Regions from separate parts of the Homo sapiens genome. Here region 2 is linked to region 1. The links are contacts of gene promoters, found by promoter capture Hi-C in blood cells and fetal thymus (Javierre and others, 2016). All regions are on one chromosome and are shown on one strand. The core of a region is centred on a gene start or on the middle of the fragment in contact, and the rest is flanking DNA. Distances in the headings are between cores, read along the strand shown.

The links. The method cuts DNA at HindIII sites, captures the fragments that hold promoters and counts their contacts. A CHiCAGO score of 5 or more calls a contact.
Region 2: a fragment that was not itself captured here is called in contact with the fragment with the promoter of SEC23A in region 1 in 1 of 17 cell types (total CD8 T cells); the score reaches 5.2 in total CD8 T cells.

Annotation. Positions count from the first base shown.
Region 1 is chr14:39,101,913-39,104,549 of GRCh38, forward strand. It overlaps SEC23A (SEC23 homolog A, COPII component), which reads right to left and starts at 1,323. Exons shown (of 20, transcript NM_006364.4): 1 at 1,120-1,323. It overlaps SEC23A-AS1 (SEC23A antisense RNA 1), which reads left to right and starts at 1,228. Exons shown (of 2, transcript NR_146545.1): 1 at 1,228-1,459; 2 at 1,633-1,900. RefSeq lists silencers at 929-1,008, 1,029-1,148, 1,309-1,538. The HindIII fragment of the contact is 19,881 bases long and covers 1-2,637 here.
Region 2 is chr14:39,206,362-39,208,998 of GRCh38, forward strand. It overlaps the pseudogene LOC100313942. Among named protein-coding and RNA genes, the nearest start is that of MIA2, 26 kb to the right of the region's middle. The HindIII fragment of the contact is 223 bases long and covers 1,220-1,442 here.

The sequences.
Region 1 (2,637 bases), core at 73-2,572:
TAAAATTCTGTAAGTCAATTAAAAATAGCTGGACTCTGGCCGGGCGCAGTGGCTCATGCCTGTGATCCCAGCACTTTGGGAGGCCGAGGCGGGCGGATCACCTGAGGTCAGGAGTTCGAGACCAGCCTGGCCAACATGGTGAAACCCCGTCTCTACTAAAGATACAAAAATTAGCCGGGCATAGTAGCTCGCCCCTGTAATCCCAGCTACTCGGGAGGCTGAAGCAGGAGAATCGCTTGAACCAGGGAGGCGGAGGTTGCAGTGAGCCGAGATTGCGCCACTGCACTCCAGCCTGGGCGACAAAGCAAGACTCCGTCTCAGAAAAAAAAAAAATAGCTGGACTTCTGAAATGATGTTCATTCACTACCAGAGGAGAAAGAGAAGGAAAACTCAACATGCATTTATATTTAAATCTAAAACCTTTTTAAACCAAGTTAATTTGGCTAGTTATCCATGGCTTTGGACGGTAGAGGTTGAGGGAGTTCAAGTGAAAACGAGAATTCCACATCCCCACTTCAGTGATTGATGTAGATTTACTATGACCTTCCTCAGGCAGTACCTTTACCACCAAATCGGGAAACACTACCTACCGTAGAAAGAAAGCCCAGTGAGATAGGGCTGGTCCTGCTGGAAAACTGAACTCTTTGTAATCAAAACCCAAGGCATTATCTTTACCAAGCTCTTTTCCCCTTTAACCCCTTTAACTTCCAAGGCTGAATTACGGTGACGTAGTCAATTGGGTTCAAAGTCTAGGACACTCCATATCTGGCAAGGAATGAAACAGTAAGTCCAAGGGCCCAGAGGCGATGATGGACTTGGGTGGAGGTGGGTGGCCCAGGAGGTGGGGGTGGGTGCTGGGCGAGATGCTCGAACCACCGTTTTCCACATCTTTCCACCTAATCCAGGGGAGCTGGAGGAGGCCGGGCCCCCGGCCCCGGCAGAGCGAAGTGGGTGAGAGGGTGGCAAGCTCAGCACTCAACGCTCCCCGCGCCGGACCGGGCCTCAGCCTCCAGCACACCTCGCTGGCCCCGGGGCACCGAGAGGGCAGAGCCGGGACCACCCCAGGATCCCAGCCCCCAGCCCGCCGCCGCCAGCCCGCCCCCGCTCCCCGCTGCGCACCTGCGGTCCCCCAGGAGCGGAGACGAGGCGGCCCTTTCCTCACTGTCCCCCTGCAGGACCCGTCGCAGCCTCCGCTTTGCAAAATCTGTCCTCTCCGCCCAGCAGGAGCAGTCCGTGGCACCGCAATCAGGGGTGGCGCCACCCCGCCCCGGGCCTCAGCGAAGACCTCCGCCCGGCCAACATGGCTGGCGCCGCCTCTGCCACGTCAAGAGGAGGGGACGGGGCGTGAGGGCAGGAAGGGGGCAGGAAGGGGCGGGCGCAGAGTTACCAGGGCAGGCCACCGGACCCCTGAGCTTGCTTAATAACCGGAGGATTTGAGAAAGGCGCGCGGCGGGCGAAGGTACCGAGAGGGGAGGAGGGAGGAGAGGTAGCGGGGACCGAGCCAGAGGGGCGGAAGAACCCGGAAGACCCAGGCAGCCGGACGGCCGAGGGGCGTGGGACCGGGCAGAGCGGGACCGGGAGAGAGCGCCTTTCCCAGCTCCCTAAAGCCACAGCGTATCCCACTCCCTGCAGGTCGCAGAAAGAGTGGAGAACTGGTGCCACTCGGACACCTTAGCTCACCGAGAGAAATGGAGACGGCCTCCAGGACATCTTAGGACCCTGGTTGATTCCGAGAATCACAAATCACATCTCTGAAAAAAGTGAAAAGTTCATTCTTTCACTTAGTGCAACAAATGTTTACTGAAACTTACTATGTGCCAGACACAATTGAGATGCTGGTAATATGATGCAGGCAAAGTAGGCCCAGATCCCTGGCCCGAAAGAATTCACGTACTATTTATGTATTTTAGTCAGCCTGTCTTTTCCTCCTACATTGCCTCTGCCACTTCAACTCTGTCTCCCCCCACCCCCAAAACACACACACAGTACAATATTTGGCTGATTCATCTTGATATGTTCAATGTTTTTCTTTCCAAGAAAAAAGTTGAACAAAATGAGAAAGCAACAGATTGGTAAGACATTAGAGCTTGGTGGTCTCAGACAACCCCTTCCTTCAGTGAGGGGAATGAAATTAAGTGCCCATGGAATTAATTGCATATATGACAACGCCTAAAAGCCTGCAAAGTTTAGCCATATCAACATTTTATGGAATGGAAAAAAAGATCAAGTCCCTGTCCTTGAAAGCTCATATTCATGAGAAATAAGACAGCAGCACCAGGCTGGGCGCGGTGGCTCACGCCTGTAATCCCAACACTTTGGGAGGCGGAGGCAGGCGGATCACAAGGTAAGGAGTTCGAGACCAGCCTGGCCAACATAGTGAAACACCGTCTCTACTAAAAATACAAAAATTAGCCGGGTGTGGTGGCACGCTCCTGTAGTCCCAGCTACTCGGGAGGATGAGGCAGAAGAATTGCTTGAACCCGGGAGGCGGAGGTTGCAGTGAGCCGAGACCACGCCATTGCACTCCAGCCTGGGTGACAGAGTGAGACTGTCTCAAAAAAAAAAGCACCAAACATATTTCCCTTTCTATAATGTGTGTACTAAAGTTGTTTTGGAAGGTGGAAGAGGATGTTTGCT
Region 2 (2,637 bases), core at 81-2,580, 100 kb after region 1:
TCTACTAAAAATACAAAAATTAGCTAGGCGTGGTGGTGGGCCCCTGTAATCCCAGCTACTTGGGAGGCTGAGGCAGGAGAACCACCTGAACCTGGGAGGCAGAAGTTGCAGTGAGCCAAGATTGTGCCATTGCACTCCAGTCTGGGAGACAGATTGAAACTCTGTCTCAAAAAAAAAAAATCTTAAATCCTGGAAACACATCAAAACAGAACCTCTTTAAAGCATAAATCACACAGGACCTATAAAACAAAAATACAAGTTAAAAAGCAAAAACCAAAACCAAAAAACCCAAGGTACACAGGCAACAAATAGCACAATGAATGCAATGGTACCTCACATTTCAATATTAACATTGAATGTAAATGGCCTAAATGCTCCACTTAAAAGATACAGAACTGCAGAATGGATGAGAACTCACCAACCAACTATCTGCTGCCTTTAGTAGACTCACCTAACACATAAGGACTCACATAAACTTAGAGTAAAGGGATGGAAAAAGAGATTTCTTGCAAGTGGACGCCCAAAGCAAGCAGAGGTAGCTATTCTTATATCAGATAAAACAAACTTTAAAGCAACAGCAGTTAAAAGAGACAAAGAGGGACATTATATAATGGTAAAAGGCCTTGTCCAACAGGAAAATATCACAATCCTAAACATATATGCACCTAACATTGGAGCTCCCAAATTTATAAAACAATTATTAATAGACCTAAGAAATGAGATAGACAGCAACACAATAATAGTGGGGGACTTCAGTACTCCACTGACAGCACTAGACAGGTCAAGACAGAAAGTCAACAAAGAAACAATGGATTTAAACTATACCTTGGAACAAATGGACTTAACAGATATATACAGAACATTTCATCCAACAATCACAGAATACACGTTCTATTCAACAGCGCATGGAACTTTCTCCAAGATAGGCCATATGATAGGCCACAAAATGAGTCTCAATAAATTTAAGAAATTGAAATTATATCAAGTACTCTTTCAGACCACAGTGAAATAGAACTGGAAATCATCTCTAAAAGGAACCTTCAAAACCATGCAAATACATGGAAATTAAATAACCTGCTCGTGAATGAGCACTGGGTCAAAAATGAAATCAAGATGGAAATTTAAAAATTCTTCAAACTAAACGACAATAATGATACAACCTATCAAAACCTCTGGGATACAGCAAAGGCAGTGCTAAGAGGAAAGTTCATAGCCTAAAAGCTTACATCAAAAAGACTGAACAAGCACAAACTGACATTCTAAGGTCATACCTCAAGAAACTAGAGAAACAAGAACAAACCAAACCCAAACCCAGCAGAAGAAAGGAAATGATCAAGATCAGAGCAGAACTAAATGAAATTGAAACAAAAAAATTACAAAAGCTAAATGAAACAAAAAGCTGGTTATTTGAAAAGATAAATAAAATTGATAGAGCATTAACAAGCTTAACCAAGAAAAGAGGAGAGAAAATCCACCAAATAACCTCATTAAGAAATGAAACAGCAGATATTTCAACAGACACCACTAAAATACAAAAGAGCATTCAAAGCTACTATGAACACCTTTATGCACGTAAACTAGAAAACCTAGAAGAGATGGATAAATTCCTGGAAAAGTACAACCCTCCTAGCTTAAATCAGGAAGAATTAGATGTCCTGAACAGACCAATAACAAGCAGCAAGATTGAAATGTTAATTTAATAATTACCAACAAAGAAAAAGTACAGGACCAGATGGATTTACAGCAGAATTCTACCGGACATTCAAAGAATTGGTACCAATCCTTTTGACACTATTCCACAAGATAGAGAAAGAAGGAACCTTCCCTAATTCATTCTATGAAGCCAGCATCACCCTAATACCAAAATCAGGAAAGGACAAAACCAAAAAAGAAAACTACAGACTGATAACCTTGATGAACATAGATGTTAAAATCCTTAACAAAATACTAGCTAACAGAATCCAACAGCGCATAAAAAAGATAATTCACTATAATCAAGTTAGTTTCATACCAGGGATGCAGGGATGGTTTAACATATGCAAGTCAATAAATGTGATACATCACATAAACATAATTAAAAACAAATCACATGATCATCTCAATACACGCAGAAAAAGCATTTGACAAAATCCAGCATCGCTTTATGATTAAAACCCTCAGCAAAATCAGCATACAAGGGGCATACCTTAATGTAATAGAAGCCATCTATGACATACCCACAGCCAACATAATACTGAATGGGGAAAAGTTTAAAGTATTCCCTCTAAGAACGGGAACAAGACAAGGATACTCACTCTCACCACTGCTCTTCAATATAGTGCTGGAAGTCCTAGCAATCAGATATGGGTGCAAAAAGGTGTCTCAGAAGACTTTCCTCCTTATAATAAAAACTCTATCTACCACATCTCCTAGCCACCCAAATAAACACACATTGGCTCTCCCCAATCTCCAGCTTGCTGATTTGAGAATATTGGGACTTCTTAGCCTCCATAATTACATGAACCAATTCCTTATAACAAATCTCTTCTCATACCTAGAGGCACAATTGACACAAACACATTTTTTAAAAATAAGTCTCTTCATATAGATATATGTAGACACACACATACATACACACATCCCATTGGTTGCTGTTTC